2 separate regions of the Homo sapiens genome follow, and region 1 is linked to region 2. The links are contacts of gene promoters, found by promoter capture Hi-C in blood cells and fetal thymus (Javierre and others, 2016). All regions are on one chromosome and are shown on one strand. The core of a region is centred on a gene start or on the middle of the fragment in contact, and the rest is flanking DNA. Distances in the headings are between cores, read along the strand shown. Region 1 overlaps COL16A1 (collagen type XVI alpha 1 chain). Region 2 holds the start of KPNA6 (karyopherin subunit alpha 6).

What was found. The method cuts DNA at HindIII sites, captures the fragments that hold promoters and counts their contacts. A CHiCAGO score of 5 or more calls a contact.
Region 1: a fragment that was not itself captured here is called in contact with the fragment with the promoter of KPNA6 in region 2 in 1 of 17 cell types (fetal thymus); the score reaches 5.1 in fetal thymus.

The regions. Positions count from the first base shown.
Region 1 is chr1:31,647,953-31,654,882 of GRCh38, forward strand. It overlaps COL16A1 (collagen type XVI alpha 1 chain), which reads right to left. Exons shown (of 71, transcript NM_001856.4): 68 at 6,840-6,906; 69 at 5,915-6,091; 70 at 5,647-5,724; 71 at 4,311-4,901. The coding sequence ends at 4,699. It overlaps PEF1-AS1 (PEF1 and COL16A1 antisense RNA 1), which reads left to right. Exons shown (of 6, transcript NR_184313.1): 3 at 3,897-4,036. Among named protein-coding and RNA genes, the nearest start is that of PEF1, 6.5 kb to the left of the region's middle. The HindIII fragment of the contact is 1,256 bases long and covers 3,388-4,643 here.
Region 2 is chr1:32,105,454-32,111,679 of GRCh38, forward strand. It overlaps KPNA6 (karyopherin subunit alpha 6), which reads left to right and starts at 2,603. Exons shown (of 14, transcript NM_012316.5): 1 at 2,603-2,681. The coding sequence starts at 2,678. RefSeq lists enhancers at 2,297-2,815, 2,429-2,858, 2,816-3,333. The HindIII fragment of the contact is 1,772 bases long and covers 2,320-4,091 here.

The sequences.
Region 1 (6,930 bases), core at 2,766-5,265, 460 kb before region 2:
TATCGCTACAAAAAATAGTTTTAAAAAATTAGCCAGGCATGGTGGCATGTGTCTGGAGTCCCAGCCACTCCAGAGGCCAAGGTGGGAGGATTGCTTGAGCCCAGGAGGTCAAGGCTGCAATGAGCTGTGTTTGCACCACTGCACTCCAGCCTGGGCAACAGAGAGACTCTGTCTGGGGAAAAAAAAAAAAAAAAAAAAAGATAAATGGAGAAGTAGGACTTGATCCCAGGTCTGCATTTTTTTTAACTACTCAGTATTTAATAGTTAGTAGATTGTGTCTTCTTTACCTTCCTAACCCCCCAGTTCAAAAAATATTGGTGGAATTGAGCTGCAAAACTTCAGAAGGGAAGAAGGTTGAAGGTCAAGTGGGTATTTGCCTGGAGAGAGAACAGTGACAAGCTGGCCTGCAAACTGGAGTCATGTGACACACACTCATTTATTCCACAAACATATGATCCCATTGGGTTCCCACCTCTTGCCAGGCTCTGTTCTAGGTGATGAGAATCCAACTCCTATGAGAATTATTTGCCCCCATTCCCCTATGCCCAGCAAAGGGCTTAGGAGAACTATCTGTGGGAGGTCTGTGCTATTTCGTGGATGGAGCATCCACATCTTCTCTTAGGGAGTCAGGAACGTGCCAAAGCCAACAGCCAGGGCTGTGCCTCTGAGGACCCACACAGGCCCAGGTATGTTTGTTTTGGAGGGGGCTGGATAAAAGAGAGATCAGGATCTTCCTAAGACTGAAAAACAATCAACTCACTTCCAAAACCTCATCTACCTGAGGCAGACAGAGGTGGGTGGAGAAGTTCCTGTTATTGTTTCACTTGTAGCCCAAGGGGAAAGCATGGATTCCAGACTTTTTTTAGAACACAGAGCACTTTCCTGAGTTCGTGGAAGCCCTGCGGTTGACCCATTAGGGGTGAGGCAGAGCTTGGTAATGAAAAGCCCATCCACTGGAAAATATTGCCTCCCCTAGAGACACAGCCTCCCAGGAGCCACTTGGCTCGCACCAAGCTTCTGTAAGGCTTACTGAGAAGGAATACCAACACCCACCTAATTATTATGGAATTAATTCTCTTTGATTCCAACTAGATCCAGTTCTGAAATTTAAATTCCAGTTGGATGCTGTGGATCAGAGGATGATTTGCAACTTTCCACAGAAGCAACAGAGGAATGAGAACAGCAGACGTGGCAATTTGGCCACACTCCCCTTCCATTATGGGATCATAAGTAGAGTACGTTGACATCGTCTATTCCCATAAACTGTTCAGGACAGCCACAAAAAAGATCTAGTCCTTTGGGATCTCCAGCACCAAAAAAAAAAAAAAAAAAATATCCATGGCCGGGCACGGTGGCTCACATCTATAATCCCAGCACTTTGGGAGGCCGAGGCAGGCAGATCACCTGAGGTCAGGAGTTCAAGACCAGCCTAACCAACATGGTGAAACTCTGTCTCTACTAAAAATACAAAAATTAGCTGGGCATGGTGGCTTGTGCCTGTAGTCCCAGCTACTCCGGAGGCTGAGGCAGGAGAATCACTCGAACCCTGGAGGTGGAGGTTGAGTGAGCCAAGATCGCACCACTGCACTCCAGCCTGAGTGACAGAGTGAGACTCTGTCCCCCCACCTCCAAAAAAAAAAAAAACTAGTCTTGTAAAGGGGTTAACAGACCCCAGATGAAGAAAGAGTCTAATTAGATTCTGTTGAATTTGAGTGACAGAGGAAAATATTATGACAAAAAATGAAGATTTAAATTCCAGAAGCATCAAAGTTTAGATTTTTCTCTGCAGAATAAATACACAGCAGCCTTTTCTCCATCTTATTGAGCAGAGGGTTTCTCAAATTAAGGACCCTCCAGTCCCATCCTTCACACTGCCATCAGCGAACTCCCCACTCGGCAAACCTGACTTGACACACCTTTGTGAGAAACCCACCAGTGGCTTCCAACTGTCTTCCCTGCTCATGCTCCAAAATCCAATCACACTGTCCTGTCTCCCGTCACTCAGCCTGCTGCAACCAGTCATTTCTGGGCCTTGGCACGTGCTGTTCCCTCTGCCTGAATCCATCTCTTCGTCTAGACATGGTTAGGTTCCCCAGCTGTGCACTCCCCTGTACCTGGCACTGCCCTATCATCCCACTTTATTGTAGGTGCTTGTTTAACTGTCTGCTCTCCCTGTGGATGCTGTGGGAGCAGGGACCATATCTGTCTAGTTTGCCTTGGGATCCCCAGAGCCTAGTACAGTCCCTGGGACAAAGTAGGAAGAGGAATGGACTCATCAAGTTAGACTTTTCCAATCTGAATGATCTGTGTGCTGCCTGGAAAGCCTGGAGTAGGTTAAGAAATGAAGACAGAAGGATAATGGGGTTGGAACGTGCAAAAGCTGCCTAAGAGGAATGGACGACACATGCCCCTCCTTGCTTTCTCTTCAGCTTACCCAGCTCCTGAACTGATGAGCAAGATCCATGGATTTCTTGCTGACCACAGTAACAGAAGAGACTATAAAATTCAGCTTTCCATCTGGTTCTTCATGGTCCAAGAAAATACAGCAATTTCAAACTCCGGGGAGACATGCATTCAAATCATGAAAGCTTAAACCTAGCCTGTCGTAGAATCCCTTAAGAGTAGCATGAATTTGACTCAGGAAGAAAAGTGAAGAAGGCATCATTTACTCTATAAGGATCAATTCCCTGGTGACCCTTAAAGGGGATGAGTTGGATGTTTCCTCATAGCAGTTTTTCCCCTCTGGCCTTCAAAGCCAACCTGCTCAATTCCACAGCTGGTCCTTGCGTCTCTTTCTTTCTGCCAGCGCCAACATGCTCCTCATGAGAAGGCCTATCATCAGCTAGTACTCGGCAGACTAGGCTGAAAGAGGAAGCTGGCCTTCCAATGGGAGTGCTTTAACATCTGTCCTCTTCCACTGTCCAAAACCTGGCTGCTACTTCAGTACAAAAATGATGCCTTTGCTTTTTAATGTTTTATGTTAGAACCAGGGTTAACTGAGAATAGCTGGGGAGGGATGAAAAAAGAATCAGCGCCTCCTTTATCTAAAAACATCACATGAGACACTCGGGCATGCTCAGGAGTCTGATTTCATTCTTCTGGCCACCAGCACACCTTTGCTCCTGGCAGGAAAAAAAAAAATAGGGCAAAGGTTCTGAAAAGCCATCAATAGGCTGGTCTCCTGGTATTTGGGACCCAACTAGAGAAGGGAGTTTTCAGAAATGTGCTAGAAATACCAGCTCTGCAGAGATTTGACAGCCGGTTTGAAGGCTTCAGGCAGTTTGGATAAGCATCTAGACTTTGGGTACATTTCTGAGCCTGCTCTGTGAGTCCTTTGAAGTGTATCCAACTTGAATAAACCTTCCAGATAGCTGGGGCCAGTGAAAAAGCTTTCTTTGGAAATCCCCCTGGAAGTGCCTTGTTGCTTTCTCACAGGGCAGCCAGCCCATCAGGACAAGAGATCTAAAAAGTAGAGAAGGAAGAAGCTCAAGAGAGAATGTTTCTATAATATTCAATTCACTGTCTTTTTTCCCCTTCCTAGCCTTTTTTACATAGGGAGAAGGACACAACAGATAGATCACCAAACTCCCAGTGGACTTTGAGGACCGTGAGCTTAGATCTGCTCGTGGCTTGCCCATGAACTCTTTGTACTGATACAACCTGGCTGTTTCTAAAGGCCTAGGCTAAGATGTACAGGAAAAGTACCACGTATATTAGAATAATAAAGAAAAACAGGAGATGTTATTTGCCCTCCAGAAAGTCATTGCTGGAAGCACTTATAGAGAGCTAGTGACCATGCATTGGTACAGGCAGAAGGTTCCATCTCATTTCCCAGAGAAGCATTCCCTGGATGCCTAGGACAGAGCTGGAGCCTGTCTTCTCTCCTGTTTGCACAGGTATTCTAATCACAGAATTACTGGAGCATCAAGAAGTGCCTGCATGCTTGGAAGGGCTTCCAGGCAGATGAACACACCTCAGCACCGGGTGGCATTTTCCCAGGGTGCAACCCGGACCGGCTCTGGGTCACACTGACAAGGTGAAGTGGATGGGCAAAGAGTGGGTGGGGTACTGAACACGGGTTTCTTTAGGGAATCAAATAGGGAGGGACCTTTAAAGCAGGAAGTGGGACCTTCCAACGTGCTTTGGTTCACTTGAGAGAAGAGGCTGAGTGATGCTCCTTCTCTAACTCAAGAGACGTAGGCATGAAGAACAGGGCACAAGATCCCGAGGAGCAAAGGGTCATCAGCTGCCCCCATCCAGCAGAATCTCACAGCACCACTGGCTGACCACAGGCAAGGAGGGAAATACCCTTTATTTTTTAATTTTTATTTTTCGGAGACTGAGTCTCATTATGTTGCTTAGACTGGTCTCAAACTCCTGGGCTCAGGCGATCCTCCCACCTCAGCCCCTTGAATAGCTAGGATTACAGGTATATGCCCCTGTACCCAAAATGCCCTTTTTTGTTCCTGGGACTAAACGGGAAAAGGAGGGCAACAGGGAGCTCTGGCTGCAGCACCAGAGGAACCCACTGGAAGGGAAAGGGCAGATAGTTTTGTTTCTTTATTATTTAAAAAATATTAACAGCAATTAAAAACAACAACAACAACAAAAAAAACATTCACAACCTGTCACAGAGTCCTATAAGCTTTGGCCATTTATTCCCAACGGAGTCTTTCATCCAAAGGCAGGTGGGGAATTTCAGCCAAAAGGCCCCTTCATGGTTTTCATGGGTGGGTACTGCTGCTCCATCGGCATGGCCCCAAAGCAGTCAGAGGGATTACAGTGGCCAGCCTTGCCTGGCTGGCCCATGGGACCCGGGGGCCCAGGGATGCCAGGGATGCCTTGCTGGCCCATTGGTCCTGTTGCACCCATCTTGCCATAGCCTGGAGGACCTTGAGGACCTAGGGAGGGAAGGGCCACAGAGGGAAAATCAGAAGACCCAGATCATAAGGGAAAAGAAGCCATAATGGCATCAAATAATACCTTACATTTGATGACTGTTTCTCAAGTTACCACATGTTTTCATGAAGACCTAGTCTGATCCTCACGTTGATTTAACAATAACAATACTGCTGGCAAGTTTTATTTAGAACTTCCATGTGCCAGGCACAGGGCTGAGTGCTTTTGATGCATTATTCATTGAATCTGCACAATTTCCTGAGAAAGAAGCTATTGTCTAATTTTGTAGATGAGGACACAGGCTCAGAGAGGTTGCACCTCTGGTAAGTTGTGATGCTGGGTCTCAGAGCCAGGTCATCAGGCTTTGGCCATCCTCTTTCAGGCTATATAGCCAAACATTCATCGTAGAGAGCACTTCCAAAGGGCTTAAGTGGCCTCTTCAAGGTGTACAGCCAGTGAGGTGCTGAGTAGAACTTGAACTCGAGTTCCTCATCCCCACCTCCATGCAGCTCTCTCCTACTGCATCATGCTAGCCCAGTTTAGGACTTAAGGACAGGTACTGAGTCTTCCGCCCCCACATCCCCACAGGCCCTGGCAGAGTGTCTTGCACACAGTGGCATTCCTATAAATGTGGTTGACTGGCCTGTCGTTATTTGGAGTTTGACACAGCTGTGTCATAGAAGAAACAGAAAGAAAAGGGGTCTCTGCTGCTCTGGATTCATGGTCTCAAATGGTGGTATTTCCTACCTGGGGGGCCGGGAAGACCATTTTCTCCTGCAATGCCAATACCAATGTCCCCTTTTTCACCTTTGGTACCAGGCAATCCTGGAACAAAAGAAATAAATAAGTCCTATCCCTGAGCAGAAAAATGACACAGCCAGTCAGATTACTTGAAACACACACACACACACACACACACACACATACATCCCATATTCACAACAGACCTCATGGAATACTTAGGCCTGCCCCAAAGAATTACATGTGTCCCTTGGGAACTGTAGGGCAGAGCTACCTCTTACTCCTGGCAAGCCCTGCCGTCCTTCTCTGCCAATCTGACCAGGGAGCCCAGGTGACCCTGGAGCACCTGGCCTGCCCGGAGCACCATCCTTCCCTGGAGGCCCTGGTCGTCCCGGAGCTGCCGCCATCTCCATGGGGAACTGCATCCTGGAGGTGTAGTAAGCCATTCTCTCTGTAAAAAAAGGACAAGGACAGGGACAGGTCAGAGGGTCCCCCAGGGACTCAGAATGACTGCAGATGCTGCATATAGGCCACCAGCATGAAGTCCACAGCAGCCTTCCTTCACAGGGATGTCAGGGCAAGGAGTATGGGGGTGGGTCTCGCAAGGGGGTTCCCACGTCCTGGCCTCCACGTCGCTCCCCATGGAGATCCTTCCAAAGCACAGATCTGACTATGGCATCTCTGCTCCAACACCCCTCATTAGTTCACCGCTGGCTTCAGAATAAAGTCCGCATTCCTTGCTTGGCATTCAAGGTCTGCTTCCCAAGCAAGACGTCCAGCCCTTTCAGGACAGGGCCTGTGTTTTCCCCAGTCCCTGGCACATCAATGTTGGATGAACAAATGAACAGAAAAAAACACTTCAAATAAACCACCCCAGCCATCTTACAGTGCCGCTCGCCCCTGTATTTAGAGCTCACTTCAGGCAGACTCGTTTAATACCAATTTTCTTGTCTGTCTCCTTTGCTCAAGTGGGGGCTCGGGGAATGCAGGAGGGAATCATTTTATCTCTGAACAGAACAGGTGACAAGGAAGGTCTGAAGGATAATTGAACATCTGCCTGTCAACCCCAGGCCTGTGAGTGTGTGGAGGGTGAGAGCAGGAGGACATTGAGCGTTAAGGAGAAAGAGGCCAAGGCAGGGCAGAGAAGTCACAAGGAAGGGCAGACAGCACCCACTGCCACCCAGCTGGCTGCCAGTTACCATCAAACATTTTAATGATCTCTTGTCTGATGAACCTCTTGATTTCATCATAATTCACCATGTCTCCCTGAAGAAAGAGAAGAAAACCTGC
Region 2 (6,226 bases), core at 1,353-3,852:
GGGGAAAGGAGGGCACTGCATTCTAAGCAGAGGGAACAGCATATGCAAAGGCACATGAGAAGACAGGCGCATATTTGAAGAAAAGTGGTTCTCCAAATATGGTTGGAGCCTGCATTGCCTGGTGGGGAGTGTCCCAAGAAGCAGGTAAGGACCAGTCTGTGCCAGATTAAAATGTCTGGGCATTACCTAAGGGCAGGCAGTAGGAAGTTGCTAAGCAGAAGAGTTACACTGTAAGGTTTCTGCTTTTTTTTTTCTTTTTTTTTTTCTTTTTTTTTTTTTTTTTTAATGAGACAGGTTTCTCTGTGTTGCCCAGGCTGGTCTTGAACTCCTGGGCTCAAGCAATTCTCCCACCTCAGCCTTCCCAGTAGCTGAGATTATAGGTCTCTGCTTTTCAGGAGATAGTGGGTGGGAGCCGGAGAGTCTGGAGGCAGGAGGCCAGAGAGGAGGCAGGCAAAACAGAACAGGGCAAAGTGATGAGGTCTCACCTTAAGCAGGGGCAGTAGGAAGGGAAATAAAGTGCGCCCCTTCCTGACCTTCATCCTAGAGTTTTCCTTTTGATTTCTTTGCCTCAAGAAAATGGGCCAGGCGCACAACTAAAGTTGGCAGTTTGTTGTGACAGGCCCTTGTTCTGCTTCCAGAAGATAGATCCCTCTGTGTCTTGAAGATATAGCCTGGCTCTGTGTGTCGAGGTGGGGGACAGGAGGGCTGCCATGTCATGGAAAAAGAAAGGCCTGATATGTACTAGCCATACGTCCCGTGATTGAAAAGGCATATGAACAATAAAAGCCTCAATTTCCTCATCTCTAAAAGGGGAGATCATGTCCCTTGCTCTGTGTAACTCAATTTTTTGTTCATTCCTTTGTTTATTCATTCAATAGTTATTTATGGAGCACACACAATGTGCCAGATTCTGTGCTAGGTGCTGGAGATACGGTGGTAAACAATATAGAACCCACCCCTGCCTTCAAGGAGCTTGCTGTGAGGATAAATGAAATGATTATGAAATCACTCTGTTAACTATACTGCATGGGTCTCATTGTTTTTCTTTTTTTTTTTTAGAGACGGGGGATCTTGCTATGTTGCCCAGGCTGGTCTCGAACTCTTGGGCTCAAGCAATCTGCCGCCTCAGCCTCCTAAAATGCTGGGATTACAGGAATGAGCCACCATGTCCAGCCCATTTCTTTCTCTCTCTCTCTCTCTCTTTTTTTTTTTTTTAGAGACAGGGTCTCACTCTATCACCCAACCTGGAGTATAGTGACACAGTCATGGCACTGCAGCCTTGACCTCCCGGACTCAAGTGATCCTCTCGCCTCAGCCGCCCAAGTACAAGTGCTCATTACCATGCCTGGCTAATTTTTTTCTTTTAATTTATTTTTTGTGGAGATGGGGTCTCACTGTGTTGCCCAGTCTGGTCTTGAGCTCCTGGCCTCAAGTGATTCTCTGGCCTCAGCTTCCCAAAGTGTTAGGATTATAGACAAGCGTGAACCACCACACCCAGCCCTATTTTTCTATTTCTCATCTCCCAATAAGATTGCAACCTCAACTAGGGCTACCTACGTAGGCCTAATCAGAAAACCTGAGTTTAGTCTTACTTCTTTGTTTCCTTCTCTCCATAGCCTCATTGAGCAAGGCACTTCCCCTCTCTAGATGATTCGTTGTTCATATTCAGCCCAAGGTCTATGATTGCTGTTTTTGTTTTTAGAGACGGAGTTTTGCTCTTGTCTCCCAGGCTGGAATGCAGTGGCACAATCTCGGCTCACTGCAACCTCTGCCTCCCGGGTTAAAGCAATTCTCCTGCCTCAGCCTCCCAAGTAGATTACAGGCATGCGCCACCACACCCAGCTAATTTTTGTATTTTTAGTAGAGACCATGGGCAGGCTGGTCTCGAACTCCTGATCTCAGGTGATCCGCCCGCCTCGGCCTACCCAAAGTGCTGGGATTACAGGCGTGAGCCACAGCGCCCAGCCGATTGGTTTCAACTATTAGAAGAAGGGATAAACTGGCCCGGAGCGGTGGCTCAAGCCTGTAATCCCAGCACTTTGGGGGCGGGCGGATCACCTGAGGTAAGGAGTTCAAGACCAGCCTAGCCAACATGGTTGAAACACCGTCTCTAGTAAAAATACAAAAATTAGCCAGGCGTGGTGGCAGGCGCCTGTAATCCCAGCTACTCGGGGGGCCGAGGCAGGAGAATCGCTTGAACTCGGGAGGCAGAGTGTGCAGTGAGCCGAGATCGCGCCATCGCACTCCAGCCTGGGGGGACAAGAGCGAGACTGCGTCTCAAAAAAAAAAAAAAAAAAAAAAAAAAAAAAAGGAGGGATAAGCTTCTGGGAGAAAAAGTTCCGGGTAAAGAAATCTCACTATAAAAAAGAAATAGTAGCAGAAACAGCTGGGAACTCCTAGACACACTTAACTTTCTTAGGTATCCCTTCCAGTCTCCTCCCAACCACTCCTTTCCTATTTCATTTCCACTCCCCACCTTTAGTAGCTGCGGTCTCTTTAAGTGCGCACTTTCGGTGTAATGATAGGCGATTGGGCCAATAAAGCGTTTCGTCCTGGAGTTAACTGGTTTGTCCCTTTCGGGCTGCCGTCCTACAGATCCGCCATATTGTCTACTGAAAGCTGCCGCTGAAGCTGCCGCCGTTGCCTCCGCCGCCAAGAGTGAGCGAGCGGACCCGCGATGGGTGAGTGAGGAAACCACGCAGTAGGGTTCTTGGGCTCAGGGAGTGTCGGGGCCTGGGATTTGGCGAGAGCCTGTCTCCGGTCTGCGGAAGATGTCTGCATCCCCTCTAGCTAGGTCTGAGGGGAAAAGTCAGGCCGGGAGTGCCCCTCTTGCCAGTTTTGGGCCGAGCTAGGGCCCGTGCTGGAAGCAGTCCTTTGGTGCTGGTTTCGGGGACACCTTGGCACGCCTGGAGCCCCCCACATGGTGGCCTCGGGCAGGAGCCCACGTGTTCCTGGGAGGTAGAAAGGGGCCTACTCTCTGTCCTGCGCCCAGACTGGGGCTGGGGGACGGGCTCCCGGCGGCAGGCCTGGGCGGCGCTAAGGTAGCTTTCTCCTGGGTTGTGTTTGGCCAACGCGTGTCTTGACTAGATTCAGTGGCTCCCCTGAACTCAGGGAAGTCCTACCTACGTAGCGAGGTGGAGTCCTCTAGTGAGGGGACGTCAGGCGAGCCAGCACTAGGCCGGTAAGCATGGGCAGCCAGGCCGAGGGCAGCTTGCGCCGCTGAAGGCCGGGAGAACGGAATCAAGGCGGAAATAGTGTGGTTCGGTTGGGCTCAGAGTGGCATCGCTTGTGATGGTAGAACACCAAAGGCCAAGTCCTCTTGGCCATCTTTAGGTTGAGGACTTTAGGTTTCTGGGCTGGCCCTGGTAAGGAGAAAAGGAGCGACCTGTTGATCTTTCTGAGGGGACTCCGGCTGGCAAGGCCTCTGTTCAGAGAGAATACCATGGCGAAGTCTTTGGATTTAGAGACAGAACCAACAGTGGTAATTCCTCTAAAGCAGTAAAAATTGTGAAATTTGCTAAGCTCTTTCTACGTACGGGCATTGTTCTGATTGCTTTACATGTCTTGTTTTACTTAATTTGTACAACCTAAGGAAATAGATGCTACCATTGCCATTTTACAGATGTGGAAGCTGAGCTTTAGAGAGGTAAAGTAACTTACCCAAGGTCATGCAGTGGCTAAGCCAGGGTGAACACTCCCAAGCCTAGTTTGTAACTGCTGTTTGTTGTTGTTGTTGATAGAGTCTTGCTCTGTCGCCCAGGCTGGAGTGCAGTGACGCGATCTCGGCTCACTGCAACCTCCTGCCTCCCGGGTTCAAGCGATTCTCCTGCCTCAGCCTCCCGAGTAGCTGGGATTACAGGCACCCACCACCACGCCCGGCTGATTTTTGTGTGTTTTTGGTAGAGACAGGGTTTCGTCATGTTGGCCAGGCTGGTCTCGAACCCCTGACCTCAAGTGATTCGCCTGCCTCGGCCTCCCAAAGTGCTGGGATTACAGGTGTGAGCCACTGCGTCCAGCCTGTTTTTTTGTTTTGTTTTTTTTTTTAAATGACCTGGCCCTCTAGTGGTTGGGCAGGGAGAAAAGGGGAAAAAAGCTTTTAACCCTAGGCAAAGTTGTAAATGTGTTTGGGTTTTCTGTTTGTTTATTTTGTTTTGTTTTGCTTTTTGTTTTTGCATGTGGGCCCATTATGAAATCTTTTTTTTTTTTTTGAGACGGAGTCTGGCTCTGTTGCCCAGGCTGGAGTGCATTGGCGCGATCTCGGCTCACTGCAACTACCACCTTCCCGGGTTCACGCCATTCTCCTGCCTCAGCCTCCCGAGTAGTTGGGACTACAGGTGCCCGCCACCACGCCTGGATAATTTTTTTTGTATTTTTTTGTATTTTTAGTGGAGACGGGGTTTCACCGTGTTAGCCAGGATGGTCTTGATCTCCTGACCTCGTGATCCTCCCGCCTCGCCTTCCAAAGTGCTGAGATTACAAGCGTGAGCCACCATGCCCGGCCACTTTGAAATCCTTTTTCTGAACGAAACTGAAGGAGTCCAGAGTGAATTGATAACTCTAATTATTGTGTGTGGGGCAAGCAAAATGAGAATCTGGAATTGAATTTTTTTTTTTTTTTTTTTTTTTCTGAGAAGAAATTTCACTCTTGTCTCCCATGCTGGAGTGCAGTGGCCAGATCTCGGCTCACTGCAACCTCTGCCTCCCGGGTTAAAGCAATTTTCCTGCCTCAGCCTCCTGAGTAGCTGGGATTACAGGCATCCACCACCACACCTAGCTAATTTTTGTATTTTTAGTAGAGACAGGGTTTCACCATGTTGGCCAAGCTGGTCTCGAACTCCTGACCTCTGGTGATCTGCCCGTCTCGGCCTCCCAAAGTGCTGGGATTACAGGCATGAGCCACCGCGCCTGGCCTGGAATTGGATTTTTAAAGATCTGAGATTCTAAGGAAGCAGAAATTATTCACTTGAGCTTCAAGGCAATGACTGTAGAATCAGATCTGGTATTGGAAGTCACTTAAATGTCAGACACAACAACACATATGGAAAGCATCTAGCACAGTCCACAATAATGTTTTTCTTCCTTTCTGAGCCTTCCTTTTCTGACCTCTAGAAAGAAGGGGTGGGGCTGTGTTATCAAGATATTTGGGGACTAAATAAGATAACAGCATTTGGGCTGGGCAAGGTGGCTCAGGCCTATAATCCCATAGGCCGAGGCGGGTGGATCACCTGAGGTCAGGAGGACGACACCAACCTGACCAATAAGGTGAAACCCTGTCTCTACTAAAAATACAAAAATTAGCTGGGTATGGTGGCGTGCTCCTGTAATCCCAGCTACTTGGGAGGCTGAGAAGGGAGAATTGCTTGAACCCGGGAGGCGGAGGTTGCAGTGAGCCGAGATCATGCCAGCCTGGGCAACAAGCTAGACTCCCTCTCAAAAACAAACAAATAAACAAACAAAAAACAGATAACAGTGTTTGGAGCCTAAAGGGCTCCATGAATATCAGAACAGATTCTTTTCCACTTTCAATAATGTTCCTTTCCCTTAAGCACTCTGGTTTCCAGGTTTCCCTATTGAGTAATAAGACTGATAGGCCTTTCTTAGTAGCTGGAGCTTCATCTTTCAGTGAAAAAAATTTAGGGGGTTTTATGTTATAAACTTTGTTATAAATTTTATATTGGTCTTCAGTTTCAGAAACACTGTTGCCTCAAAGGGAAGGAACTAATGTTTAATAAGCTCAGTGAAATAAGTAGAGATTTACTCAGTTTTATAGATTGGGAAACTGTCTCGGAGAAGATAACACAGCCAGTAAGCCACAAAGCCAGGAGTAAGATTCTTACCCATTTTGCAGCACATAAATCTATAAGACTTAAGAAGTTAAGAAATAAAGTTAGTCCTATTCTGGTACAGTTCAACATGAAAGTTCTTCAGTGGAGCAACAAACCCTGACCAAGGTCTTGAAGGGGGTTTTTAGCCTAGAGTCAGGTAACTTCCTCTTTCCAGCTCCATCTCAGGTACCTCTCCCTCATCGTAGCTTGTCTTTATGAATGTCAGCTTTTTGTTTGTTGTAGACCAAACTAATGCATTCATTTAATTCTAACATCTAATCTAAGGTATCTTGGGTTATCTCCATTTACACTTATAAACTGAGGCTTTGAGAAGATTAGGTGACTAGTCCAAGGCTGGTATTCTGGATCCTTTGGGCACTGGAGACACTAACACAGCCTGC